Linked DNA regions of Homo sapiens: all the other regions are linked to region 3. The links are contacts of gene promoters, found by promoter capture Hi-C in blood cells and fetal thymus (Javierre and others, 2016). All regions are on one chromosome and are shown on one strand. The core of a region is centred on a gene start or on the middle of the fragment in contact, and the rest is flanking DNA. Distances in the headings are between cores, read along the strand shown. Region 1 has its middle 130 kb from the start of LINC00923. Region 2 holds the start of LOC124903581 (a long non-coding RNA gene). Region 3 holds the start of NR2F2 (nuclear receptor subfamily 2 group F member 2).

Evidence for each region. Contacts are between HindIII fragments. The CHiCAGO score rates a contact against its expected background, and 5 or more counts as called.
Region 1: a fragment that was not itself captured here is called in contact with the fragment with the promoter of NR2F2 in region 3 in 1 of 17 cell types (monocytes); the score reaches 5.2 in monocytes.
Region 2: a contact is called between a fragment that was not itself captured here and the fragment with the promoter of NR2F2 in region 3, in 1 of 17 cell types (endothelial precursors). The highest score is 5.3, in endothelial precursors.

What each region holds. Positions count from the first base shown.
Region 1 is chr15:97,737,979-97,742,116 of GRCh38, reverse strand. No RefSeq gene overlaps it. Among named protein-coding and RNA genes, the nearest start is that of LINC00923, 130 kb to the left of the region's middle. The HindIII fragment of the contact is 3,175 bases long and covers 974-4,138 here.
Region 2 is chr15:95,032,921-95,037,121 of GRCh38, reverse strand. The region is part of intron 3 of LOC105370991 (a long non-coding RNA gene); the gene reads right to left. It overlaps LOC124903581 (a long non-coding RNA gene), which reads left to right and starts at 1,384. Exons shown (of 2, transcript XR_007064798.1): 1 at 1,384-1,738; 2 at 2,378-4,201. The HindIII fragment of the contact is 8,797 bases long and covers 1-4,201 here.
Region 3 is chr15:96,327,665-96,332,287 of GRCh38, reverse strand. NR2F2 (nuclear receptor subfamily 2 group F member 2) reads right to left here and starts at 1,588. Exons shown (of 3, transcript NM_021005.4): 1 at 1-1,588. The coding sequence starts at 182. RefSeq lists a silencer at 1,696-1,835. The HindIII fragment of the contact is 6,805 bases long and covers 1-3,417 here.

The DNA.
Region 1 (4,138 bases), core at 1,312-3,811, 1.4 Mb before region 3:
CAGTGAGCTGAGATAGCACCACTGCACACGAGCCTGGGAGATGGAGCGAGACTCTGCCTCAAAAAACTAAACAAAGCAAAACAAAACAAACTGTTGACTTATGAATGATTATTTGGATTTTTATTTTCAGTTTTCTGCACTACAAACAATCCCATATTGAACATCAATAGATATCTATTTATATCTATTTATCTAGTTACCTATCTATACATATATGGATGTAATGGGATATAATGACTAGTGTTTTCATTTTTGGTAGGATGATTCACAAAAGTGGAATTGTTATATCACATAATTAGGATCTTTAACATTTTAACACTTCACACTGCCTATTTCACTATAGTGTTGTCAACATTGATTGTTTTCAATCTTTTATTTATTTACCAATCTCTTATAACTTGAAATGGAATTTTACTTTTTAATTTGCAGTTCTATGACTATTAGTAAATGTCAGTAACTTAAAAAATTTCCATCTCCTAAAATTCCTTTCTTGTGTGTTTTTCTTTCTTCTGCATCCAAGGGTAGGACTGAGGAAACAGGAGAGAGAGGCTTCCAAATTGGTCCAATGACAGCCTCACTAACTGAAGTTATTTACTCATCATTATTTTCATAATAGCTAAAATGTGCATAACAATTTTCTGTTTATAAAATACTTTCATATCCATCATCAAATTTAATATGGGGTACAAACCATGCACAAGACGGTCTGTAAAGCACAAAAGTAGCTCATTATGCATAAATATAAAGTGCTTTTTACTACTCTGAAGATTCCCAAGAGAGAATGTGTTCTTATTCCCCATTGCTTCTTCTAATACTGAGTTGGGAGGAGCCATGAGTTGGATATGTTAATTTTTATGTTTGTGGTCCTGCTACATCCTCAATCTTCCATTGTATAGTACCTTAAAGATGCCCATTCTTGATACCAAGTACTATTTGGGGATGCATTTAAATTTTCTGTGTGTGCCCTAAAGCTTGGGAAAAGCATAACAGCTAAACGTGGCAATTTCCTGCTTACTTTAAAACTCTGCCTTAAAATGTTGCCAGTCTGGGGCTGTGCAGAGAGAGAAGGGGCAGCAGCCTAAACACAAGAGAAAGGCAAGCTCTGTTTAACTCGATGTTTGCTCACTATGGCATGGCTGATGCTGCCTGGAAAAAATACTGTGAGCCCATCATTTCCACCAAGGGACCAGGGCATGGTTTGGCATACCTATGCCACGATGCATCCACAAGGCCAAATTAAGAGAGGATGGCTCTCTGGGTCTAGTTTAAGGAGAAAAGAGCCCTCTGCAAACAAAACCTACCTCTGAAAAGGCTCCACGGGACACAACATCTAAAGGTATTTGCCACGGTCTGTATATTGAAAGTCAAATAGCTCTCATTCAGGAGCAAAGCCCATCTTCCCTTTTTATGTCTTCAGCACTTATTGACAAAAGCAAAGTTGAGAATGGCAAAGAGGGATTGTTCTGCTGTGGCTTTCATACAGAGGAGGCACTGGCTGTAAAGACAGGGCGTAATGATCCATCCCTCTTGGGAGGGATTGTGGACGGATCAATAAAATGCAGACATTGATACAGAACAGGCACATGGTATTCCTCACTCCCACATCCTCTTTCCTGGGGGCACTCAAAGGCTATTGACTTTGGGGATATTGTCATGAGCTGGGGCCAAGGTGACATATGGTGGTTTCTCTTCCTTCTGCCTGCTCCGCCATCTTGGTCGTAAATGGAGGATAATAGTACTAGAGAATAGGGAAGATAAGGGGTCTATAGGGCCACCATGTCTACCAAGTCCAGGAGGTGCTGTTTACAGGCTGCAATGTGAATGACACCCTCAGGGGCTGGGTAACACCCTATGGCTTGGACTCTTGAGTGACCTTTTCTTGTATCAATGTCAGTCAGCATGCTATTGATCATCCTCTTCAACTCCCAAAGCATCCATCTTCTTTGGTGAGGATATAGAGCATTGCCCCATGGCTGCTCTGGTCACACTGTTCTTGCCCATCGATCCACATTGAAGGACACACTCCTCACTTCAAACCATTTCACATTCTCTTCAGGTTTCATCAGCAATGAGAACTTAATTGAGGGAAACTAGATCTCCACAATCCTACATTGGAATATAGAAAAGTACAAGGACATGCACGGCACTTTGAAGGCTTTTAAAACACGCAATGCCAGACTTCGGTGTGCCACATGGACTAATGCTTCACATTTGCATGCCTACACATTTTATCCTGTGAACTTTATCTTACCTGCTTAATAAGTTGTTCAGTGACTTTAAATAACTACTGAATTAAAAAATCTATAAGGTTACCCTGGGTTCAGGTAGTCATTTGCATTGAGGCAGTAGAGAGAGGCCAGGCTGGGATGAGCTGGTTAGGAACTAAACTCACAGGGGCTCCGCTCCTAAGAGGATGAGCTAGACCTATGTGACTTCCTCCTTGCAAAGGGGAGGTGACTCTGGCTGGCCTGATCTTTCAAAGGATGCTTTTATAGCCTTTGTTCTGATCATCCAAATGGATTAAAAAATTACAGTCATTTTAACTAGGTGGGTCTTTCTCATTTATTATTCATGTTCCGAGATCCATTTCTGATGCTTAAGAATAATGCAACCCTCGTCAGAGGCAGCAGACCTGACACGGGATCCTGGGTCTAACATAACTAGGCTGTGGAACCTAGGCAACTTATTTAATATCTTTGAGCCACATTTCCCACGCCAGTAATGAGGGATTAATTGGATGTAAGGGGTTGTTTTGTGATATTAGGTAAACTATGCCATACAAGAATACCTACATAATTCCTGGTTCACTTTAGGTGCTCAGTGGAGATCAATTAAAGCTGAATCTGGCTGTGACTAAGAATGCAGGAGGAAGTCGGTATCTGGTGAGTGCAAAGGGCCTAGGGTCATGTACAATTAATTACTCCATTATTCCTCAGTTGTCCCCAATGCTCTCCAACTGATGCACCCACCCTCACTCTTCCTGCTCAAATGGTATTAACCCACTTTAGATGTTTATTTTATTCTTCAAGATCATCTTTCCACAAATATTAGATGCCTACTAAGTTCTATGTGTTCAAAGTAGTTGAAAGTGATACAGAAGATTTAGAGATGAATTAGAAATTGATTGAAGACATGCCCATGTATGTTCATTGCAGCAATATTCACAATAGCAAAGACATGGAATCCATGTAAATGCCCACTAATGGTAGACTGGATAAAGAAAATGTGGTACATATACACCATGCAGCCATAAAAAAGAACAAGATCATGTCCTTTGCAGCAACATGGATGGAGTTGGAGGCCCATTATTTTAAGTGAACTAACAGTAACAGAAAGCCAAATATCACATAGTCTCACTTCTAAGGGGGAGCTAAACATTGAGTACATATGGACATGAATAAGGGAAAAACAGACACCAGGGCCTACTTGAGGGTGGAGGGTGGGAGGAGGGTGAAGATCAAAATCCACCTATGGAATACTGTACTTATTACCTGGGTGACTAAATAATTTGTACACCAAATCCTCATGACACAAGTTTACTTATATAACAAATCTACACGTGTACCCCAGAACCCAAAATAAAAGTAAAACAAAAGACAACAACAACAAAACAAACAAAGAAATTGACTGAAGAATTTATATTAAATGGGTTACCCGTGAATAAAAATGCATTATGGTATTGAGGTTGCTTATGCTGCTGATGGTGATGGCAGTGAGGGAGAAGTGAGTTTTAGTTTCCTTGGGCCACATCTTTCTAGGGATAAAGCCAGTTGTTCTCATTCATCTTTACATTGCCAGCCTCTATTATAGAGGTCTAGAATCCAAGTCAAATGACTGAGTGTATAAATGAATAACCTCTGCCCAGCAACTGCTGGGTTTACCACAGTGCCCGCACTCACACACACTTGAACATTTCTCATTTGAAACCCTTTGAAGAACTGCTTGTTTCCATTCTGTTCTTTAAAGAGGTTCTTTTACAAATGAAAAACAGTATAAAGCTAAAATTACAGTACAACACATGCTGAAACTTTCCTGAAATGGCAAAGATCACAAATCCAACAACTGCAGTAGAAAAGCAAAAGAGGAGGTGAAGGCAGCAGCTAATCAGGAGGCAGAGAGTGGAGATCTGATGGAGTTT
Region 2 (4,201 bases), core at 1,097-3,596, 1.3 Mb after region 3:
TGATTTAAATTGAATGCTCATTGTTTTGTCATTTGGTGCCTGTCCTTTTACCATTGTTCTAATGATATGGTTATTGCTCTAGTGTCTTTTATGACTTTTGAGATGGTAGAAAGACTGGATCTAGAAATAAAATTTTGTCATCATGCTATGTCATCAGTGTAATTATCTCTCACACCTAAAACTTTTTAAAAAGCACAAATATGTTTCAGTTCACTTGATCCTCACATAACCATGATGAAGTATTTACTGTCTTTATTGTACTAATAAAAAGCAAACAAAGCCCCCCAATACCTAAATAGGCTAAGTGTCTTGCCCAAGTCACATGGTTAATCTGAAAGCCAAGAATGTCAAAGTCTAATGTCCCTTTTACTCAAGTTATGGGAAAAAATAGAAATAACATATAAAAATAAATGAGCTATAGGTGTAGAAACAATTATTAAGGCATCAGCATTGTTTAACATCTTTACAAAGTTTAGTTAATTAGGGAATATGTATTTATTAAGCCTTGACTCCACAGCAATTTTGGTTGTGGAGTCAATTCTTTCTAGCCCCTGTGGATTCAGGGGCTTATCTTGGTAACATTGTGGCAATTCACTTCAAGACTAATATTTTAGAGTAAATAATATGAATTAAAATACTTACTCCAACACAGATTGTTGAAGGTTGACAATTTCTTTAGTGTTTGATACAGTTTCCTAAGATGATCAATTTCATTTTGGAGAATGGAAGTGGGGACACCTCTTTGCTTCAGTTCCACATTCCTTTAAAGCTAATGGAGTAGTTTAGATTCAGTATAGAATGACTTGATAGAAAAGTTTTTAATCAACTTGAAGCACTTGGGTTTTGGAGATAGAAAAAAAAATGAGTAAATTACTTCTCACTTACTAAATGCTAAAATTTTCCACTTCTTATTTTTCCCCTTCTTATTTTAAATGTAATTGTGTAGCAAAACTCTTCAGGAAACAATTCAGGGATCTTCTATACCCTCCAAACCCCTCACTTATGTATTTCTTTCCATTGACATGCATTTATACACTAATGACCCATAATCTTAACAATAAAATGACCCTTCTCCATAGCAAATCGTTGATTCACAAAGCTCAGACATCTCCATCATCTATGTTCAGACAATTGTGCTGGGAATCTTTTCTTAACAAAATGATGCCAAATTCTTAACAGCAGGTTGCATCTGAAGACTGACTTGTGGCAGAAATTAGTGACTTTGATTTAAACACCCTTTTCTCTAAATGTTTCAAAGAAAGAGTGAGAGGGAATAAAAAGGGCAGTTTGTTAAAAAAATAAAATAAAATAAATGATAGACAACACTTAAAAGTAATACATTTATGTTGGTTTCTTGTAGCAATTCTCATTTTCTCCCTTTAGGATTAAATGTCAGCTGAAGGTTGAATCGGGCAAAAACTGAAAGAAGACAACAGTTTGAAGGCTTCCCTTTCCATTTCCAAACATAATACCAAATGACTTAAAATGAATGAAGATGCTTTAGAGCTCTGGGTGTCACGATAAAACATAAACTTACACATTCACTTTGACCCACATATTGTCCTTTCTAAGATGTTTCAAAATGGGAAAATCCTCTGTGTCATTTTATTTGAAAAAAAAAATCAGGAAGCACCATTGCATGCATGTGAGCCGAGCAGATGTGCATACAAACATGCGTGTGTGTACATGAAGCACAACCAGCATTTGGAATATCCTCCCTCAGGCAAAGCAAGGACCTGTAAGTAGTACTATTTTTCCTATCAGCCCTGGAGAGTACAGAGGGAGCCCTGTGTGTTATTAATGGATAAAATCTGAACGGCAGCCAACCCCAAGGTGAACCCTATGCATTTAAAACATTTCATCAGACAGCTAAGGTTTTTCTTTTTTTTTTCAGCAGATATCTCTCCAGCCACCACTCAATAGATCCCAAGAAGAGAGCAATAGCTGGCCTCACTAATGTGCAAATTGATAGTATGAGCTCCCCACCAAAATATAAACAGCTCTTTATTCCTTAAGTATCAATATCATAGGCTGGGCTGGTGTGAGGGAAGTCTGTGGACTACCGTAGAATTATCTGGCAAAAAGAAATAGTAAATGTAAAATCTTTGCCCAGCCAGCTGGCTTCCTGAGTTTCTTTCTGTGATGTTTGAATGCTCTGCTGAATTCTAACAGCTGGAATCTAGACATTTGTCTAGTTTATGACTTCAGTTTTTTATAAGGGTTAATGTGGGTGGTTTATAAAGTTAGAGGTAGAATAAAAATAATTAATGTTTACTTATTATTTTTATTTGTCTCTGCTTAATTACTAAAATGGTTTGAATGTTCACTGGTTATTTTCATTTGCTGCGGTCCATTCTTTACTCTGTTTTGTTCCCAGAGAGGCTGACTCCTGCGTATTGTATCACCCTGGCTACCTGGCCAACTGGCTTCAAATTGGGCTTGACCACTGGGAGGTCCTGAGAGAAGACTGGAGGACAACAAGAGGCAGAGACTGTGGTATTTCTTTCTTCCTACTGTGGGCCGGATTGCTGGCACTGGCTGTGTCCTTCCAGGAACACAGCTCCCAAAGAGAGGCCCATCTGCATGGCCCCAGCTCTCACTGTTCTTTGCTAACACAACTTCCATTCGTGCCTCTTTAGGCTTGGAAGTGGCAAAGCCTGTCCACTCTTGCTAGTCTCTGAGTGCCTCATATCCCTGATTTTTCCCTTTTGCTCTATCCACAACTCAGGAAGTAATTTCTTCATTAGAGTCCCCTGTACCACATGGACTGGATTCAACTTTCTGCTATTTTCAGTATTAAATTAGTTAATATTTGTAGAATGCTTACAATAGTGCCTGACACATAATAAGCATGCTTTATGTTTGTTAAATCAATAAAAATAAACACATATAATATAACACTGAGTCATGTGTTCAGAGGAAAGGGGTGCTATGTTTGTCCAGGCGGAATCAAGAGCTCACCCCTGGTGTAAGAGTTTGTGGAGTCAAGGGGTTAATACGCAGGAGAAAGAAAACCCCCAAGGTGACCAAAACAATAGCAGCAACAACAAAACAGAGTTGTATGCCATACCCTAGTTCCTAAGGTTGCTATTTTGGCCTCAAGGATTCTTTTTTTTTAATATTGGTTAAACATGCATTTCATTTTTCCAAAGTAGAATTTGAAACTCTACTAACTCTACTAACTTTAGTTGCTCTTCCTAACTAAAGAGAGCAAAGACTAAGCAAGTATGAGTAAAACAAAAGGAAACTTTATTAACACATCCTGGCTACCTTTAGGCCAGTAGAGAGGAAGAGGAGGAGGATGTACATGCCTAGAAAAGAATAGGAAGTCACAGCCCTTGCCACTGCAGCCTGGGTGTGTGACACTGCAGTAGGCTATGTCAAGGAAGGCTGTAGTCCCCAAGGAACTAGATCTGCCTTGTCTTATGGGAGAAATGCAGAGCAGGAATTCAGTAGTCTGGCAGGTCAAGCAGCAAAGGCCCAGCAAAGAATGTGAGTCCTGTCATCCAAGACCATCTTAGGGCCCTTTTTTTTTTTTTTTTTCTTTGAGACGGAGTCTTGCTCTGTCACCCAGGCTGGAAGTGCAGTGGAGCGATCTCGGCTCACTGCAACCTCTGCCTCCTGGGTTCAAGCTATTCTGCCTCAGCCTCCTGAGTAGCTGGGACTACAGGCACCTGCCACCATGCCTGGCTAATTTTTGTATTTTTAGTAGAGATGGGGGTTTCACCATATCGGCCAGGCTGGTCTCGAACTCCTGACCTTGTGATCCGCCCGCCTCAGCCTCCCAAAGTGCTGTGATTACAGGCGTGAGCCACCACGCCTGGCCTGGGCCCTTCTTTTAACTGAATGTATTTTATTGAATCTGACCAGCCTGACAATGGCTCGTCTGTGCCTGCGCAAGAAACTCACCAATACTGTCAAATGATATTGCTCCAATCTAGACTGTACACATGAATTCAACTACTACACTATTATCAGGTTTTGTTGCAAATTTGTCCCCAAAAAGATTGTCCTAGGAACCACTGTTATATACTCTGCAATGCAAATCTCCATTTGCCTTTCAAGAAGCTCCGTTCAGCAGGAACTGGCCTCATCTCGAAATTTATTACCCTTTTGCCACTTTTATGTCTGCCCAAGTCTGAATTTTTTGTCTAGAACGCTGCCTAGGGAGGCTCTAACAGAACAGTTTGTGGTTGCAACT
Region 3 (4,623 bases), core at 339-2,838:
CCCTGGCCACCGGCCGCCGTCTGGGCTGGCGTGCTGGCTGGGCCCCCTTGGCCGGGCGTCTGTGGCGTGTGCGGGGCGCCGGGCGGCGGGCCGGGCACGGGCGGCGCCTGCGAGGCCTGGCTGCCCTGTGAGCCGGGCACCTCGTCCTGGGGGTCGCGCCACGTGCTGACTACCATTGCCATATCTATGGGGGCTGCGTCCGGACTTCCTGCTCCCCTGGCTGCGGGCGGCGGCGGGGCGGCGGCGGCTCCCCGGGTCTCGGGCTCCGGCGCGCCGCCTTTTGTGTGTGCGAGGGTGCAAGAGGGCGCGGGAGGGCGCCCCGGGTGGCTCGGGGGCTGGTTGGTTGAGGTTGGTTAGTTTTTCCTTTTTTGTTTTTGCTTTTGCAAAGTTTTGTCGATGGCTTGTCTGGCCCGGTGTGTTTGTTTTGTTTGTTTCTCTCGGCTCAGCTTTGTTGGTTTCGGGGGGCTTTCCGCCGGGAGGGGAGGGGAAGGGGACAGGAGAGCGAGTGGGAGCAGAACGTGGAGAAAGAGGGAGGGGAGGGAGAGCTGAAGTCGATTGTCTGGCTTCAAGACAGAAGTAGGAGGCAAAAAAAAAAATCTCTCCAAAGATCTCGCTCGCTCTCACTCTCTCCCTCCCTCTCTCGTTCACTCTCGCTCTTAGAGCTGGTGTGCAGCCGAGGAGTTGGCGGAGGAGGAGGAGGAGGAGGAGGAGGAAGAGGAGGTGGTGGTGAAGGAGGAGGTAGAGGAGGAGGAGAGGCGACTGTCCGGGGGCCAAGTCCAGGGCAGCCCACAGTCAGCCATTCAGGAAAGCCATCGAAATCAGGAGGACTAGGAGATCGGAGGCGCCGGGTGCGGGCGCGCCCAGGGAGCCAGGCAGGCCGGGGCGGAGGCCGGCGGCCCGCGGAGTGGCCGGAGCGCTGCCCGGGTCCGGGGGAATCAGCATGAAAGTGGTCCGCGTCGGGCGCTGCGCGGCGTCGTCCTGGCGCTGGGCCGCCGCCGCCGCCGCCTGCCCCGGGCGTCCGGCGCGCGCCTCGCTCTCTCCGGCCGCCGCCGCCCGCAGTCGCTGGGTGGAGGCCGCTCGCCGTTCCCTGCGGGCCGCCCGGGCCGCCGCTGCCGCCGGAGCCGCCGCCGAAGCCGCCGGGTCGGGCCCGGAGCCGCTGCGTCTAGCGCCGCCGCCGCCGCTGAAGTCGCTGCTGCCGCTGCTGCCGCCGCCGGAGCCGCTGCTGCTGCTGCTGCCGCCGCCGCCTCACACACATAGGGAAAGAGTCAACTCGCCGGCGGCGGGGGAGAAATGATAAAAGAGAGAGAGGAGGGCAGATCACCACCTAGAAGCACATCCTTCGTGCGCAGAGGGGGGAGAAAAAGACGGAGAGAAAGAATGAAAGAGGGGAAAAAAGGCAGTACGGCACCCGGAGAAAGGAGGCAACTCGGGGAGAGGAGGAGGAGAAGAAGAAAACACACACGCGCGCACGCACACACACACCGCGGAGAGAAAAGAACAGAGAATCAAAGTGATCAAATATGCTAAAAAGGGGGGCGCGGGAGGGAATGCGATTTATAGGCGCCGGGGCTGGCAGAAGTGGCTTCTCCGCGATCAGCTCACTGAGCTCTCTATATAGTGAACTTTGACACGACTGCTGCAACTTAGCGCACGTTGCCATGGCGACGGCGCGCCTTATAAGGCAGCAGCCGGGGTTGGCCTGGCCAGGCGCGCGCGCGCCGCCCCCTCGCCGTCATTGGCCGGACTGCGGCGGCCCCGCCATGGCGGCCGCGGGCGCAGCCCGGTCCTAGCGCGAGCGGCGTCGCCGGCGCGGCGCGGGGCACGCGGGGGACCGGGGGTTGGGGGGGCGGGGACGGGGTGGCCGCGCCGCCGCCGCCGCCGCCGCCGAGAGGGGGATGGGCCCGTGCTGGCCCTGCGAGCGCTGCCTCTGCTCTCCCCACATCCCGCACCCGAGGTTTCCGCCCCGGCGGGGAGACTAGCGCAGCGCGCACACACAACGTCTCTTAAAGGCTCCGCGAGAGGCTTTGGATGGAATCGGGGAGTTTGCCTCTCGCAACTTGGCGATGTCACGAATTCCGCCGCTCGCGCACCACCCGGGACTCCTGGCGCATCTTAGTACCCACAATGCCAAAGAAAAGTTCCCTGGTTTCTTTGCAGAGGGATAGGGAGTGAGGGTGGGAAGGTGCCACGAACTGAGCTTGTAGGCATTTTCCAAACGAAAGAGTTGGCCAGATCCGGGTGATGGCAAACCCTTCTCTTAATTAACTCTGATCACTTGTTCGGTTTGGTGACATATATATATGACATATATTCTTTTCAGAGGATAAAGGCCGTTCTGTTTCTGTTTATTCCTTGTAGGGTTAACATTTCACAGGTATGTGGCCTGACATTTTAATTGCCCAAATAAAGCATCTCGGATGCTGAGAAGCAGAAATAGACTTCATCTGATTGTCATGATGCAATTAGAATCAATTTTCCTCAACTTTACCCTCTCTCGCTGGTTTTAGCTAACTCTCCAGCCAACATCCTGCCACACACCCAGTCATGGTGAGAGGGGAAAGACCTCTGCCCACTGATGGACAGGAGGAGGCAGCCGCCCAGCCTCCCCTGTGCACACCCTCTGTACACACATGTAAGCGCACATGTATCAGATGCACATTTGTCAATGTACACAGACAAAGACTTCACCGACTATGCTTCTAGGTCATAGAACAGTTGAGTACGGACTTCATTGTTCCTCAAGTTCCTTTTAAGCATTCATATAGTCATTAAAACGCACCCAGAGATTCTGCCCCAAATGGGAAATAATACTAGTACAGGTCACAAGAACCAAACCCAAGCCATATTCTACCTCAAGAAGTCACTGCAAAAAGAACAACTTCATAGCCTATTGCCATTCTGCTCCATGTGCTAAAATAATTGAGACAGTTGTGTCTTTGAATTCCAGGGTGTCTGGTTTTAAACATCAAACATGTAGAATTGCTCTCAGAACACACTATATTCCAACGCAGTAAACTTGTTGTTTATGACCAGTTAGTGAATTATCATTATTCCACATTTATACAAGAAAATTGTGTCTCCTTTGTACACACTTTGCACCAAGAAAAAACCTCATGCCGGTAAACCAACCAGGTTTGTGAACAATTAAAATATTTTACACAAAAGACGCTGAGCTCCAGGAAAGAAATGAACACATATGAAGAGTAAATTGATGACCACAGAAAACATCCTTGGTAGCTGAAAAAAAAATTGACAGGGTAAAGATATTTTAAAAATAAACCATACATATAATTGACATGCATAGATCACATTTTACATTCAATTCTCTTTACACACATAGGCAGAATATGAGGTAAGGACTAAAGATCTGGGCAGATAGGGGCTGGTTTTTAGGAAAGGAAAAATCTTCTTTAAGCTTCATTCCCGAAACCTCAGCCCTCACTCTTTCTCCGATGAAATCACGTATTTCACTAAAGCTGCAGGTTCTCGGTTTATTTGAAAGTTGTTAAAAAAAAAAAAAAAAGCCCAGCAAACCTATAGTGGACACTGAACTATCATAAACCTGGTGTGTAATAAGATTGCCACAGAATGAAGCCAAGCTGAGAATTTCAGGTTAATTAGAGACACAATATAACTTTCTCCTAAAGAGGATAAGAAGGATGGAAAAGAAATCATTACACAGGAGAAGGTTTTTGGTAGTTGTTGTTGTTTTCCCTTCCAACCTCTATGATTCAGGAATTGCTAATGTTACAAATGTCAGCAGATTCGGGACAAGCTCAGCTGAGATGTGATGAGACTGGGGTTGAGATAGGAAATCTAATGGGCATTCCCATCTCAATAGAGGATGAAAATAATTGATTATAGGGAAATCTTCATCTCACCTCCTGAATGAGACTTCCATAGCAGATTACCTTTTACAAACATGGGAAGGAACAATATCGAGGAGGAAGAGCTTCCCCAGTCCACTTAGAGATTTTTGGAATTTGAAGTATGCGTGATGGCCTTAGATTAAAATGGAATAATTTCCCAACCATATCTTAACAAATTGGAGCCTGCTAGGCAAATGATCACAGGGCTGCCATAAAGTCAGGGGTGTTTCACTCTGTATTTTAGGACTCATTCAGTTATGAAATGCTGTTACAAGGGAGAAAAAAAATCACCGTATGAATTATACTTAATTTTAATGCATAGAAGAAGAGACAAGACTACAGACTGAGAAGAAAAAAGGGCAAAAATATTTTTAAATGTCTTCTCCAGAGATGCTCACTTGCTGTGCGTCTAAGGTTAAAAAGCTCTGAGAAGATAAAATCAATATATTATTGTTGTTTTTTAAAAATCCAACTCAGTCTTTTTTTGCAGATGTAAATTTATTATAATGAGAAGAATGGCAAGCTTTAATTTGCCTAGAGAAAGTTGGGACAACATTTGCCCTAATCTAAAAAAGAAAAGAAAGAAACTCAACACCCAGGAATATAATTTTCTTGCAGAAAGTGGCCTGATGGGCTGTATTTCTTTACAGATTGAATCACAATATGAATACAGACCCCAGCAAATGCCGAGTTTAACTCTGAACTCAGTAGAAACCAGTTCCGTCCTCCAGGATTCATTGAATTCCTCCTTTCC